Regions from separate parts of the Homo sapiens genome. Here regions 1, 2 and 3 are each linked to region 4. The links are contacts of gene promoters, found by promoter capture Hi-C in blood cells and fetal thymus (Javierre and others, 2016). All regions are on one chromosome and are shown on one strand. The core of a region is centred on a gene start or on the middle of the fragment in contact, and the rest is flanking DNA. Distances in the headings are between cores, read along the strand shown. Region 1 overlaps ULK4 (unc-51 like kinase 4). Region 2 overlaps ULK4 (unc-51 like kinase 4). Region 3 overlaps ULK4 (unc-51 like kinase 4). Region 4 holds the start of ZNF621 (zinc finger protein 621).

Evidence for each region. Contacts are between HindIII fragments. The CHiCAGO score rates a contact against its expected background, and 5 or more counts as called.
Region 1: a contact is called between a fragment that was not itself captured here and the fragment with the promoter of ZNF621 in region 4, in 4 of 17 cell types (total CD4 T cells, total CD8 T cells, activated CD4 T cells and 1 more). The highest score is 7.6, in total CD4 T cells.
Region 2: a contact is called between a fragment that was not itself captured here and the fragment with the promoter of ZNF621 in region 4, in 3 of 17 cell types (total CD4 T cells, M0 macrophages and naive CD4 T cells). The highest score is 9.2, in total CD4 T cells.
Region 3: a contact is called between a fragment that was not itself captured here and the fragment with the promoter of ZNF621 in region 4, in 15 of 17 cell types (total CD4 T cells, total B cells, non-activated CD4 T cells and 12 more). The highest score is 12.5, in total CD4 T cells.

What each region holds. Positions count from the first base shown.
Region 1 is chr3:41,916,667-41,920,355 of GRCh38, reverse strand. It overlaps ULK4 (unc-51 like kinase 4), which reads left to right. Exons shown (of 37, transcript NM_017886.4): 6 at 538-639; 7 at 1,816-1,899. Among named protein-coding and RNA genes, the nearest start is that of ULK4, 44 kb to the left of the region's middle. The HindIII fragment of the contact is 4,490 bases long and covers 1-3,689 here.
Region 2 is chr3:41,894,783-41,898,778 of GRCh38, reverse strand. ULK4 (unc-51 like kinase 4) reads left to right here. Exons shown (of 37, transcript NM_017886.4): 14 at 287-347; 15 at 1,776-1,957; 16 at 3,215-3,261. Among named protein-coding and RNA genes, the nearest start is that of ULK4, 65 kb to the left of the region's middle. The HindIII fragment of the contact is 3,983 bases long and covers 266-3,996 here.
Region 3 is chr3:41,875,243-41,879,325 of GRCh38, reverse strand. All of the region lies in intron 17 of ULK4 (unc-51 like kinase 4), which reads left to right. Among named protein-coding and RNA genes, the nearest start is that of ULK4, 85 kb to the left of the region's middle. The HindIII fragment of the contact is 3,624 bases long and covers 311-3,934 here.
Region 4 is chr3:40,522,368-40,526,224 of GRCh38, reverse strand. ZNF621 (zinc finger protein 621) reads right to left here and starts at 1,265. Exons shown (of 5, transcript NM_198484.5): 1 at 951-1,265; 2 at 361-446. The coding sequence starts at 384. RefSeq lists enhancers at 784-923, 483-1,295, 1,574-1,663 and a silencer at 1,224-1,383. The HindIII fragment of the contact is 8,303 bases long and covers 1-2,264 here.

The DNA of each region.
Region 1 (3,689 bases), core at 829-3,328, 1.4 Mb before region 4:
AGCCAACTAAGTGTGAGCGGAAGTGATGTGAGTAACTTTGAGATGGGAATTTTAGGAGCCAGTGTTCAGTTAGCTACATTCTTTCTCCCTGCCTCCAAGTGAGGAAGCATGAGTGGAGTTGGAGCCTCTATCAGCCTGGGTCTTTGAGTGACTATGAGGATCAGAGCTTCTTGGTAGATTTGTTGTGGACATGTTTAGTGATAGATAAACCTTTGCTGTTAAGCCAGTGGGATGTTGGGGTTGTTATATTGAAGGTTTAACTTAAACTATTCTAATTGAAATTTAAAAGAAGAATGTAGCTGAATGTGCCATACCTCTCAGGTAGATTTTAAACACTTTTTTATATTCACACACATCCTTTGCAAAATGTAACCTTAAAATTAGAAAACATTTAAAAATGTGAAATGCACATGAAGTTTTATTCATGCGCATGTTTTTCTCCTGCCCTTTTTCATCTCATCAGATCTTTCCTAGGTGGGTTCGTGTTGGCAGCAATACAAATGCCTAACCGAGCTGTTCTTCATACTTTGCTTTTAGGATCTCCTGTATATACAGCACCAGAAGTTGTGAGGGGTGCTGACTTTTCCATCTCCAGTGACCTCTGGTCTTTGGGCTGTCTGCTTTATGAAATGTTTTCAGGTAATTGTTTCCTGAATAGGTATAAAATCAGAGCTGGACTAAAAACCAGGTTAAGTCTGTACTTTGCAGATGTTTTACCTATAAGATGTGAAAAAACTAGATTTTTTTTTATTTTGAGACAGAGTCTCGTACTGTCACCCAGTCTGGAGTGCAGTGGCACGATCTCGGCTCACTACAACCTCTGCCTCCTGGGTTCAAGCCATTCCTGTGTCTCAGCTTCCCGAGTAGCTGGGCTTACAGGTGCCCACCACCATGCCTGGCAGTTTTTTCTATTTTTAGTAGAGAGCGGGTCTCACCATGTTGGCCAGGCTGGTCTTGAATGCCTGACCTCAAGTGATCTGCCTGCTTAGGCCTCCCAAAGCTCTGGGATTATAGGCATGAGCCACTGTGCCTGGCCAAAAAAACTGTGACCTTATAAATTTTTATGTATACTGATTTTGGCTGAGTTGCTTGGTATCTAGGCATATGCAGATTCCTAGAAAGTTCTTGATAAATAGGTAATTTTTCATGATAATCTGGAATGCTGAAATGTGCCTAACTCAAAAATTGTGATTATTAGAAATTTTTGTAAAGATGCCTTGCAATTGTGTATTATTCAGATGATTTGAATGGCCCATGCACCCATTGGTTCATAGTAGTGGTCCATATGTGTGTTTGTGTATTTGTTAGGATGATAATACATTTTGAAGTAAGAGAAATATATAGGCAGTGCCTCGTACATACTAGGCATTAAATAGCTATTGCTATATATTTTTTCTATAAGTTGTATAATCTTGAAATATCTGTAGTTGAGATTAGAATTATTGGTGATAGCAAGGCCAGGTGTGGTGGCTCACGCCTGTAATCCCAGCACTTTGGGAGATCGAGGCGGGCGGATCACGAGGTCAGGAGATTGAGACCATCCTGGCTAACACGGTGAAACCCCATCTCTACTAAAAATACAAAAAATTAGCTGGGCGTGGCAGCGTGCGCCTGTGGTCCCAGCTGCTGGGGAGGCTGAAGCAGGAGAGTGGCCTGAACCCAGGAGGCGGAGTGTGCAGTGAGCCGAGATTGCGCCACTGCACTCCAGCCTGGGTGACAGAGCAAGACTCCATCTCAAAAAAAAAAAAAAAAAAAAAAAAGAATTATTGGTGATAGCAGACTTCTTTCATTTTGCAAGTTTTCATGTGATTTCAGGAAAACCTCCATTCTTCTCAGAAAGTATTTCAGAATTAACTGAAAAGATCTTATGTGAAGATCCTTTGCCACCTATTCCGAAAGGTAAGATTTCTTATGATAAATGGAATTAATTTACATTTTACACTGATTAAAGGTGTACCTTTATCCAACGTTTGCTTTTATTGATTCATAACTCCCCAAAGTTATCTTTTATAAATGATCCCAAGTTGATATTTTTAGAAATGTTAGTATTTCTTTTGCCATTTTTTAAAGATGCTGAAACAGAAAACAAAGTACTAATAGATTTCCCTCATTTAAAAACTATTTTGTGCATCTATATCATAAAAAGTATGGCTTAAAGACTTAAAAAACTTAAACCCTTATGTGACATTGCTTTTTGTATGTACCATTTACTTACTTTGTAGTCGTATCCCATGTGGTTATTTCTATCTCCTGTTGGAACAAATTCACCATTTCCTTATCTTGATGAATCAGAATGCTACCCTTATAAGTTTTAAAAATCTTTATTTATTTATTTATTTATTTATTTATTTATTTATTTATTTATTTTTGAGACAGAGTCTTGCTCTGTTGCCCAGGCTGGAGTGCAGTGGCGTGTTCTCGGCTCACTGCAACCTCCGCCTCCCGGGTTCAAGCAGTTCTCCTGCCTCAGCCTCCCGAGTAGCTGGGACTACAGGTGCCCACCACGGCACCCGGCTAATTTTTTGTTTTTTGTTTTTTATTAGAGACGGGGTTTCACCATCTTGGCCAGGCTGGTCTCAAACTCCTGATGTCATGATCCACCCACCTCAGCCTCCCAAAGTGCTGGGATTACAGGCGTGAGCCACTGCGCCCGGCCTAAAAATCTTTAAAATTAGATACAGTTGTATTATTTTTAAAGTGTTGGAACTTTAATCATATAAATTGTGGTTAATATAATGATCTATCAGCAATAATTTTTAAGGAAAGGAAAACAAAAGAAGGCACAAGTGTAGTAAAACATTTTGCTATACATTGTTAAAGTTTATCTTAAGACACATAAATGAAAACAGGATTCTACAAAAATTATTGCTATATATACATATATATATATTTGAGAGACAGGGTTCTGCTGTGCTGCTGTGTCACTCAGGCTGGAGTGCAGTGGTGCAGTCAACCTCCCAAGTAGCCGGGACTATAGGGGCACACCACTGGGAATGGCTAATTTTTTAATTTTTTGGTGGAGACAAGGTCTTGGTATGTAGCCTAGCTTGTCTTGAACTCCTGGCCTCGAGTGATCCGCCTGCCTTGGCCTCTCAAAGTGCTGGGATTTCAAGTATGAGCCACAATGTGTGGCCATTACTACTACTTTTAACCATAGACTGATGACCTGGATATGGTATATAACTAATTTAAAAAGACAAAACATTATGAGATTAGTGGTATTGGACAGTGTCATATTATAATGCTTCTTATTTCTGTTAAAAATCTTAAAAGAGGGATTGCAAATATTCTTAGTTGTTCAAGTTAGGAATACTTAAAAGAATAAGGTATAATTAATAGTTAAGCTGGGGCCGGGCATGGTGGCACACACCTGTAATCCTAGCACTTTGGGAGGCTGAGGTGGGTGGATCACCTGAGGTCAAGAGTTCACGACCAGCCTGACTATCATGGTGAAACCCTGTCTCTACTAAATACAAAAAAATTAGCCAGGCATGGTGGCACATGCCTGTAATCCGAGCTACTTGGGAGGCTGAGACAGGAGAATCGCATATACCTGGGAGGCAGAGGTTGCAGTGAACTGAGATCGCTCCATTGCACTCCAGCCTGGGCAAGAAGAGTGAAACTCATTCTCCAAAAAAAAAAAAAAAAAAATAGTTGGAGCTGAGCATAGTGGCTCACACTTGTAATTG
Region 2 (3,996 bases), core at 1,008-3,507, 1.4 Mb before region 4:
TTTCTAATTAGAGGTAAATTAGCTAAAAAGTAAGCCAAGATAGGAGTGAATGTTTTCTATGAAGCTTTATTTTATTACAGATATCAATTGAAATGATTATAAAAAATATTATCTATATTTGTGTGTTTTAATCCGAAAAGTCATTGTTCTTATTCTTTTTGGTAACAAATTTTGCACATTCTTTTTTTGTCCTCATTGATTTATTATCTGACATAAGGGACATATAAGGAGACAGATATCCATCTTAAAAATTGTCTCAAAAGCTTTCTTTTTTTTTAAACCACAGATAATGAAACAGCCACCAGTTAAATTTGATGCAAAAATATTGCATCTACCAACATATTCAGGTAGGATCATAAAGGACTTATCGAACATGTAGACTCTTTGTATACAGATACAAATATGAAATTTATTTGCAAATAGAATATATGTGAATAACTAAATTTATTTTGTCTTGACAATTGGCTATATTCTTGGGGCAGTGTTACACGAATTGTAAACAATCTGTAATTCATTTGTGCCAGCTGTTGACATTTCTTAGCTGAGTCTGGGCTGCCCAGTCCTATTGTGGGTGGGGAGGTTCCTGTAGATCTGGGCAAGTTTTCCTGTAGAGTGGGTGGGAGGTCTTCTCCTCCCTTCCCTTAGAGCTGGTTGAATTTCCACCATTTATGGCTGGTATAGGTGCACAGGGTTGGGGACAACAATGAAGGATTGGGATTCTATTAGAGGGACCAGGACATTTGAGAATGGGACTAGGTGGTTCATGACTGTGGAGGTGGTGTGGGAGTGGAGATACTTAAGGGATAATTATTACATTTCTGTTGAGCTAATGAAAGTCTTATTTAGGGTGACCATCAGAAATTTTTACATACCTTAAATTGGTTTTTTCGTTTAACAAATTATATTTTAAGCTGTTAAACTCGATTTGGGGAAAATTATTCATCGTGGCTAGAGTAGAATCTATGATTTGAAGTAAATTTAAAATATATTTAGGTTTAAATAAACCAGCTAAGGGTTTATATTGGTCAACTTAATTACTGATAAAAACAAAAAAGAAACTGTGTAGAAGGACGTTTTTGAAAGGCCAAGTGAAGCAAAGTATTATTAATAGTGCTTTCAGTGCCAAGTAGGACTATTTACGCAAACCTAGAGAATTATCACCTGGAAATACTATTTCCCTTTTCTTCTTTGAGTTATTTAGGAGATTATATTTACAATTTATTTTGTCTAAAGATAGAGATCAGCCAAAAATATGTTAATTTTAGGGGGTATCACATTTCCTAGATTTTGCCTTTTTTTTGTATAGGGATTTGGAGGTAGGAATTTCAGGTGATTTTTAGCTATCATGTTATTCTCGTTATTTTTTTTACAATAATTTTATTGGAACTTTTTAAGAACTGTAGGATTTGTGCTTTTCTCAATATTTGAGAGTTGATTTATTTATACAAAGGCTCTTTTGTCTTTTACTCCAGTTGTATTGAACTTTGCATTTTGTTATAGTGTAGGTTGTGGGACAGTTCTGCTTTAGACATCTGCTTTATTTGAAAGTATAGTTTTCCATTGAAGTGGTTAAAAAGTTTCCGTGGATAGATAAAGAGATTAGGAATATAGAAGGACGAATAAAAATAGTGTCATCTTTGGAGTATTTTTGGTTTTGACAGTGTAATGTTTGTCCTCATCTTAGCTGTCGTAATTCTGTGTTTATTTCTTATGTAATGTTTCCAGCAGTTCTTTTTCTCATCATATGTACTTTTATTATTTTCTTTCCATCGCAGTGGATAAGTTATTATTTCTGAAAGATCAAGATTGGAATGACTTTTTGCAACAAGTGTGCTCGCAGATCGACTCCACTGAGAAGAGCATGGGGGCCTCCCGAGCCAAGCTGAATCTCCTTTGCTATTTGTGCGTGGTGGCTGGTCACCAGGAGGTGGCCACCAGGCTCCTCCATTCCCCCCTGGTAAGCCTGTGTGACATGCCTTATGCATTTTAATTTGTGTTTTTATAGAGGCTCAAACAAGTGCTAAAATAACAATTTGATTTAACTACCACAAAAAAACTGATTTATCACGATTTTAGGTTTATGAAAATTATCCTCTGCTTAATCCTTAGGTCCTAAAGTAGATGACAGTAGATGGTGATTTTGAACTTATTTTGTTTGTTTGTTTGTAATACTCAGGTTTCCATTTTATGTTAACTTGTAAGATTTAAAAAAAAATCTGAAATCAGGCTGGGCGTAGTGGCTCATGCCTGTAATCCCAGCACTTTGGGAGGCCAAGGTGGGTGGATCACCTGAGGTCAGGAGTTCGAAACCAGCCTGGCCAACATGGTGAAACCCTGTCTCTACTAAAAGTACAAAATTAGCTGGGTGTGGCAGTGCACTCCTGTAATCCCAGCTACTTGGGAGGCTGAGGCAGGAGAATCACTTGAACCCGGGAGGCAGAGGTTGCAGTGAGCTGAGATCGCACCACAGCACTCCAGCCTGGGCAAAAAAAGTGAAACTCCATCTCAAAAAATAAAAATAAAAAAAAAGTGATATCATAAGACAGACCTTTTACCTTCTCATTAGTGACTGGAATGAACTCCCCATGTGGAATGGGTCGGGGGTGTCGGTTCCTTTACTGGGTCATCTGGTAAACTGCAGGGTTTCTGATGTGACATTGAAGGAAGACATCAATCCTCTAAGACATTTTTTTCCTCTTCCCCTGGGAATATTACTTTTTGGACTGTCTTGGTCTGTTGGTAAGCTCAAGGGAATTTGTCAGAGTTTTTTTGGTTTTTGTTTCTTTTGGCTCATGTTTAAGCATCGATTGGCAGAGTTTTTGAAGTCATCCTCAGAGAGGAATTACAGTGGTTCGGAGGTGTTTTCTATAGTGGTCCCTCATTTGGGAATTGGCTTGAAAAAATTTAAGTTCATTTGCTTCCAGGATAGTATTAAGGTTACTTTTTTTGATAGTTGGTGTGTGTCTATCAGGTAAGGGCAGTCATTTAGCGAATATAAAGTGGTAGGAGAAACTAAAAATACTGTTCTTAGTTTTTATTTTAATCTTATTCGTATACTAGTGCCTTTGTAATTTAGTAAATACCATTTTTGGTGTACAGTGTAAATTTCCTTTGTATAAAGTCCTGAGCTGTTAACTTTGCTGTCATTTTCTGTGTTTTGTGACTTAAACATTTTAATTTTTTCTTTTCTTTACACTTAAATTTCTTATTCTAGTTCCAATTGCTAATCCAGCATTTGCGGATAGCTCCAAACTGGGATATGTAAGTAACGTTTATATTTTAAAAATTATTTTTCATGACTTTATTAAGTAGTTACAGAGCACATATTTATCAAAAGCAGAGTCCTAAATAATTATCATAAATTATTCTGATGTAATGATGACTCTACTCATAGGCAATTTTTATGGGCATTCCAATGATAAATTTTAGAATATTAAAAATAGCCCTTCTCCTAATATTACAAATACAATTCTGGGATTATCTAAGGTACTCCTGGAAACTTTATTAACTGTTATTGTTTTTTTATTTTCTTAGAGACAAGGTCTCTCACTATGTTGCACAGGCTGGTTTTGAACTCCTGGGCTCAAGTGATTCTCCCATCTCTGACTCCCAAAGTGTTAGGATTACAGGTGTGAGCCACTGTGCCTGGCTAACTGTTACTGTTTTGAGTATTGATTATAAAATACTTAAACCCTGATCCCTGTGTATTAATTTAGTTATACTTCCTCGAAGTTTCCCTTGGCCACCCTTATCTTTCCCTCATGTAGCACATAGCTTCCCTAGATGTTATTTACAATCTAATGGGATTATGATTTATAAACTCCCGATGGAAGGAAGTGTCCTTGCTTTTTACAGAAGCAACATACCAGGTGGAGAGCACAGTAGATCAAGTGTTAGAAGGCTCTGGGTTCTGTTTGCCAATAAGACTTGGCCAAATGATTATCTTTTTCTCAATCTCTGCTTCCTGGGGACTGTGGGTGGGACAAGGAAATGGCA
Region 3 (4,083 bases), core at 873-3,372, 1.4 Mb before region 4:
AATGATATCATTTTACTAGTAAATATCTTTTGCTAGCAGAAAAGGATTAGAAAAATGTATAACCATGATTTCATTATCACACCCAATACATTCAGCAGTAGTCTCTGAATATCATCTAATACCCAGTTAGTGTTCAGATTTTCTTGGTGGTTTCATACATGTCATTTTGTAATTTTTCTTTGAGCCAGGATTGCGTTTAGATATTGTGACCCTTAAGTCTCTTAATTCCTGGTCTCTTATTTTTTAGTGTCATTTATTTGTTACAGACAAATTGTCCCTTGTCTTGGCCCAAATTGGAATACCAGAAGCTTTACTGCACCCTTTTGGTGTTATTTAATATAGTCCTTTATCACCTGCCTTTCCTTTCTTGCGCATGGCTGCTTAGATGTGGACCCTTGATTCAGTACTTTTTTTTGGGGGGATGGCTTGGGGAAATAGGAATTTGTCACAGTTGGTGCTGTATTTCTCCTACTGCTTCATAGGAAGTGAGACAATTAAACATTATATGCCTCTATTAGAGGGGTTAAAGTTGATCACTAGACTCAGATGTTGTCAGCCTTATTATAAATATTCCCATCACTCTTTTTTTTTCTTCATACCCTTATCTGTGAGTCAGGAACTCCTCACTCTTTTTTTTTTTTTTTTTTTTTAACAGTTTTAACATCAATCGATTATTGTCTACATGTAGTAATCCTTTAGAGTTGCAAAATGATAATTTTCTTATTCTGTAATTTCCTTTCTATTTGTAGTTGGAAGTTTTCTTACAGAAGATCTTTCCCTGATCAACTATTTGGTTATCCTTAAAATAGAGTTTGTTTTGCAAGGCAGGATAAATGCTTGATTGTTCCTCTTCATAGGTCAGTTTTCAGAATAAAGAGTTGGTACCTGAGAAATCTCCGTGTCTAGTGAGATTGATTTTATATTGTTAAGAACTTACAGGTGTATATATGTATATGTATATCGTCTAGTCCTTTGCAGTCATTAGTCTTTTTGATGCTTACATTGTTTCATCTCCATCCAGTGGGAGCTCTTTCAAGTTTGCTCCTTTCTCCCTTTGACATGAGCCTACTCCTGTCTCTGACAGCTTGCTGGCTTCTCGGCAGTGAGCTTTCATAGGCTTGTTTCGGGAATAGTCAACCCCTAGTTTTGAAACCACTTCTATAAGGAATCTTGTTTACTTTGTTAGAAGATGTAGTTAGAGAACTCAATCTGGGTTCTCTAGGTTTTTTTTTTTTTTTTTTTTTCCTGGTAGAGCTTTTCAGAGGTTAGATCTAGGTACTATTGTTTCTTAAAAAGAGAAAAATTCACAGTTTATTCTGCTTTTCCAATTCAGATTTTTTTATTGAGACAGAGTTTTGCTCTTGTTGCCCAGGCTGGAGTGCGACGGCGCGATCTCGGCTCACCGCAACCTCTGCCTCCCGGGTTCAAGCGATTCTCCTGCCTTAGCCTCTTGAGTAGCTGAGATTACAGGCATGCACCATCATGCCCGACTAATTTTGTATTTTTAGTAGAGATGGGGTTTCACCATGTTGGCCAGGCTGGTCTCAAACTCCTGACCTCAGGTGATCCACCCACCTTGGCCTCCCAAAGTTCTGGGATTATAGCGGTGAGCCACCACGCCTGGCTCCAATTCAGATTTAAAATTCGTTTTTACCTTTTGATTTACAATTTTTATTTTTCTTCTCATAAGCTAAAATTCCTGGCTGGGGCGGTGGCTCATGCCTGTAATACCAGCACTTTGGGAGCTGAGGTGGGTGGATCACTTGAGTTCAGGCGTTCGAGACCAGCTTGGCCAACATGGCAAAACCCCATCTCTACTAAAAATACAAAAATTAGCCGAGCATAGTGATGCACGCCTGTAATCCTGGCTCCTTGGGAGGCTGGGGCATGAGAATTGCTTGAACCCAGGAGGCGGAGGCTGCTGGGATCGGACCACTGCGCTCCAGCCTAGGCAACAGAGCAAGACTCTGTCTCAAAAAAAAACACTCTTGGCCATTAATAACATTAACATAATTATCTTTTTTTTTAGCTTAGAGTTTAGAATAGTTTAAAAATAGTACACGTATTGTTACTAACAACAAAACTACAAAGTGCATTTTAAGTACTTTTTTTCCCTTGGGATATAACCCACTGGATGATATGTACAGTCAAAACGCTGAGTTTTAAAAGCAATTTATATAATTCTTCACTTTGTACTTTTGTCACCAATATGATATATAGTTACATATGTTTTCAATTTTTTTTAGATATTTAGAGATTACTTTGTACTTTCTTTCTGGTTTGAAAATTATAATTCTTTTTTATTGAAGTGTTGGAAATACATACAAAACATAAATGTATTGCTTAATGAATTATTGCCAAGTGTGAAAACCCAATAAACTGTCACTGGGTCAAGAAACAGAACATTAAGTAGAACATTGCCAGCATACCCGGGGATCCTCTTGTGCTCTCTCCTGATCACTGTTCTCTCCCTTTGTGCCAAAGGAAGTTACCGTAACTTCCAATTCTGTCATGATTTTGCCGGCTTTTGAATTTTGTTTAAATTGAGTCATATGATATGTATACTTTGGTATCTGGCTTCTTTTATTTCATATTATGTTTATGGAATTCATCCTTGTTGCCTGTACCTGTAGTTCATTTTTATTACATGAGTATACTACATCACTGGTGATGGGCATTTGGATTGTTTTCTGTATTTGGCTATTAAAAGCCTTGCACACACATTTTGATGCACTTGCGCAAGCTCTCTGTTGGATATGTGTAGGAATGGAATTGGTAGGTTACAGGATATGTGTGTGTTCAACTTTAGGGGGTAATCTAAACTGTTTTCCAGTAAGGTTGTATAAGTTAAAATGCTTTGACTAATGAAAGAATGTTCAGTGCTCTGTATTCTCATGAATACTTGGTGTTGGCATAAAATCATGTTAAATAAGTATTTACCAGTTTCCTCTTTGTTTTTAACATTAATGGTTATTGAGTTTGGTATGGCATCAGAAGATAGGAGTATTTAATTTTTCTTCCTATCTCTATTAATAGGTGGATTATATTAATGGAATTCCTAAAAATAAATCACCTTTGCATCATTATAAGAAACAACTTGGTGCTCTCTATAATTCACTGTTGGAGTCTCTTTCCTCATGTTTTTTTCTAGAATTGTTCCTCTATTTTTTCTTGCCACATTACATTGATTCTTGGAGAGTCCAGGCTGTTTGTCCTGTTGAATATTCCACATTCCAGATTTGTCTGCTTGCTTTTTTTGGTATTGCTAACTTATTCCTCTAGTCCACACATTTCCTATAAACTGTAGGTTAGGTCTGGACGCTTCATTAGATTTAGGTTGAACCTTTTTTTTTTTTTTTTGGTAAGAACATATCATAGGTGATACTGGGTACTTCATATTTGAACTCATCAGGAAGCATGCAGTGTCAGGTTTTAATAGTTGCACCTACTTTGATCATTTGATTAAAGTAGTGCTGCCAGAGAGCTCCATTGTAAAGGTACATCTTTTCCTTTGCAGTGCCACTTTAGCTCTCATGTGATGTATGCAATAAGAGCATAATATTAAAACTTATATAGATTATAACTGCTGTTTTAACATTTTTCTAAAAAAAAACATTCAGGAAATGTTAATCATTGTATTAATTGTCATTAATTGCCATTGCATTTTCTCTTTATTTTCAACAGATTATTACTATTTTTATTTTTGAGATGCAGTCTCATTGTGTTGTTCAGGCTGGACTACAGTGGCACAATCATAGCTCACTACCTTGGGCTTAAGCCATCTTCCCACCTCAGCCTCCTAACTAGCTAGTACTAGAGGTGCATGCCACCATGGCCAGCTATTTTTTTATTTTTTATTTTTTGTAGAGACGTAGTCTCCCTATGTTGCCCAGGCTGGCCTTTTTAATTTTTAAAAAATCATTTTAGCCAAGCTTTATTGAATGCTTGCTGTGTACCAGGTGCCAGGCTGGTCTTAAACTCCTGGGCTCAAGTGATCCATTAACCTCAGCCTCCCAAAGTGTTGGGATTACCAGCGTGAGCTATCACACCTGGCCTCAACAGATTATTAATTCACTAAGTTCA
Region 4 (3,857 bases), core at 16-2,515:
CTACACTCCAGCTTGGGCGACAGAGTGAGACTCCGTCTCACAAAAAATGAGTCTGATTTCAGTAGGTGACTTTCATTTCTAGAACACGATCTGGATTTCCACATTCAGAAAGAATTTCTTGGTATAGGTCCCCTTTCTTCCATTTAAATCTATACATCCAAACTCATCACTCTCTATACACAAAACTTTCATTTCCCCAGCACATATTTACATCTGCCATAGCCCTGGAGATAGATACAAAGGGGAAAACACAGCTTGGCCAAGTTAGGCCTTCCTCATCCTTTCCTGATTATCTGATAGCTAATGTGAGTAAAAAAACATAAACAAACAAACAAAAAAACTGAAAGAAGCTCAGCTCACCTGAGGCCAAGTTGTTTGGAGCATGGCGGATGTCCCCTGGCTTCATGCACTGTCTTCTGGGTTTGGACAAGCAAGATCCTCAAGAGCTAAGAGAAAAAGAGCCATGAGTGCTAAGGACCCTGTCGTCCACCACCTACAGCAACCTATGGCCCTCCCAGTTTCCACATTTCCAGCACTGGATGCACGGAGATTCTACTAGGACTCCCTCTAATTGTTCTCACGCTGATAGCCCCAAACTTCTTATGAATTGTTCTGCCTAGTCTTCAGGACAATCTTCCACCTGCCTGCTCAGTCCGAAGAGCTTTTTTTGAGCCCATTCGTACGGGTAAACTGAGGGACCCAAGAGCCCTGTCCCTATTGTGTTGGGTCTCTACAAACGTAAAGAGTCTTTACAGAATGCTTACAGGGACGATGACGTGGACCCAAAAGAAAGAACCTCAGGAGAAGAGGGACTGGGGTGGCTGAATGCGGATTAAGGGTAAAATACTCAGCGTCCCAGTGGGTGATGCTGACCGGAGACCCCACCCAACCGTGATCTTAACACTCCACCCAAGAAAACAGGCAACCCCAAACATCAGAAACGTCAGTACCGGGAGCCAGAGGCTGTCAGGGCAAGTTCTTTAGGGCAGAAAAGAGGATCAGGCCTCGGTGGCAAAGGGCTGGACACGGGCTCTAGAAGCCCGAGCAGCCACCTTGACGGCTTCGGCGAGGCCCAGATGCCCACGGTCCGGGTGAAGGAGGGGCGGGCCGCCATTGGGACCAAGTTCAGGGGTAGTGGGGGCTGACGAGCCGCCAGGGGCAGCGAGGAAGCCGGCACCGGGCGGACCTGGCACGTAGAACTCGCTGAAACCCACGCTCTGCAGAACGCCGAGGAGCTGGTCACTAACTAAAGGCCGAGCCGGAAGGGCGAGTGCACGCCCAGGGTCCCTCTAGGCCCCCGGAGGCCGCCATCTCGGTCGCCCCGTGGCCAGACCCGCCCCGCCTTTCATGGCTGGCCCCGCCCTGCGGAAGAGGCGAGGTTGCGGCGACCGGCTGGGCTGAGAGGCCGGCGGCGGGCGTGGAACTGTGGCGCTCTAAGCCCGGCTTTCTCCGGCAGCCGTCGGCATCGCCTCTGGCTGGAGTGTCACGGACTGATACAGCCTGGCTCTACCGAGACCTCGCCCTCTAGGCACAAGTGGGCCCCCAGTTCACGGGCTGCGCCTCAGCTGTTGGCCGCCTTGGCCCCGTGGCTCACCTGAAGCCTGGGCCGTGCAGGTGAGGGGAGAATGGCGCCTGCTTTGTCATCTCTAAGAGGCCCAAGCCCAGGATCTTGCTTGGGTCCTCAGCTGGGCAGTCCTCAGGGAAACCATGGTTTCCACTCGCCGTTTTAGCCCTCTCCCTTCCAAGGACCTAGATGTGCGTAGAACCTTTTAGGACAGATTCATTTAACAACCAAAACACCCGTGGCTACATACAGTTGCTAGGCATCCTGTATACACAGGACATGTCCTATATTAAATGATCTTGTCCTGTGTTGACTTTGGGAGGACACCCTAAATGTCTTATATTTAGCTTTTTCCAATAAATTACAAAAACTCGTAGTTACAGCTATTTTTCTGCTCAGTAACTGGCACTTAAATAAAATGTTAACACCAGCTGAAATATATATATCTCATACTTCCATAAATAATGATCTGGACAGACCTTTATGGTCTGTTCTGTTAGTTGGACTGCAGGAAGAAAAAACAGTGAAGAGGGGAGGCTGCTAATTAAAAGAACTTACTTTTCATATTCAGGAAAGGAAAAGACTGTTTTTTGACCAAAGTCCCAAGTCACTAACAAGTACTTGCCATTAATTTACATAATTTTAGATCAGTACACGTACTCTGAAAATCAACCAGTACACAACAGCCTCACTCCAAGCTTCTGAACATGAGCCAGTCAGTGATAAACACTTCCCGAAGCCAGCCAGTGGCAGCTCTACCCAGCTCATTGGCAAGTACCTCACTACTGTGCCCTTCCTTCTGGACAGGAGCCTTTCTCCAGTATCAAAGTGGTTGCTAAGATGGACAGACTTTGTTTTTTTTTTTTTTGCTTGTTTTTTGTTTGTTTGTTTTTTTGAGACGGAGTCTCGCTCTGTCGCCCAGGCTGGAGTGCAATGGCGCAATCTCGGCTCACTGCAAGCTCTGCCTTCTGGGTTCACGCCATTCTCCTTCCTCAGCCTCCCGAGTAGCTGGGACTACAGGCACCCCGCCACCACGCCCAGCTAATTTTTTGTATTTTTAGTAGAGACGGGTTTTCACCGTGTTAGCCAGGATGGTGTCGATCTCCTGACCTTGTGATCCGTGCACCTCGGCCTCCCAAAGTGCTGGGGATTACAGGCGTGAGCCACCGCGCCCGGCCCAGACTTTGTTTTACTTTAATCACGCTGATAACTTCTCCTGAACACAGTTCCAGATACCAGGCTCCTCACCACCAAGCATTTCCATGCTATAAAGGGGAATTGGTCTCCCACCACTAAAAGATAAAAAATGATCCTGGATATCTAGATATATTGCTTTATTACAGGGGTCCCACTTCTTGGATTTGTTATTCCTTTCTTAAGAATTAGACTGACTTATGAAGTCCTATTATGGAGAGTATCTTAGGTATCTACTGCTGCATAACAAATCACCCTAAAACCTTATGGCTGAAAACAAAACACACTTATTATCTCTTAAAGTTTCTATGAATCAGTGAACATAGTCAGTCAGTCCTAAAAAGAGAAAAAGGAAAAAAAAAAAAGGTTCTGTGGATGAGGAATTCGGGAGTGGCTTGGCTGGATGGTACTGGCTTGGGATCTCTCATGAGGGTCTAGTCAGGTGTCACCTGGGACTGCAGTCACTTGAAAGTTGGACTGAGGCTGGGGATTTGCCTCAAAGGTAACTCACTCACATGGTTGGCACATAGATGCCAGCTATTAGTGTGAAACTTCCCTTCCTGCGCCGGGTGCAGTGGCTCAGACCTGTAATCCCAGCAATTTGGGAGGCCAAGGCAGGCAGATCACCTGAGGTCAGGAGTTTGAGGCCACCCTGGCCAACATGGCGAAACCCTGTCTCTACTAAAAATACAAAAATTAGCTGGGCGTGGTGGCGGGCACCTGTAACCCCAGCTACTTGGGAGGCTGAGGTAGGAGAATCACTTGAACCCAGGAGGCGGAGGTTGCAGTGAGCCAAGATCCCGCCACTGCACTCCAGCCCAGGATATAGAGCAAGACTGTCTCAAAAAAAAAAGAAAAGAAAAGAAAAAGAAGCCTCCCTTCGCACACCGCGTATCTGTACATGGCTGAGTATCCTCACAACACAGGAGCAGACTTCCACTTCCATCTCAGGTGAGTAACCCAAGAGGTCAAGGCAGAAGTGGCAATATCATTTATGTCCTAGCTTTGGAAGTCACACTCTGTCATTTCCTCAATATACTATCATCACAGGCCAGTCATGATTCAGTGTTGGATACACAAGGGTGTGAATGCCAGAATG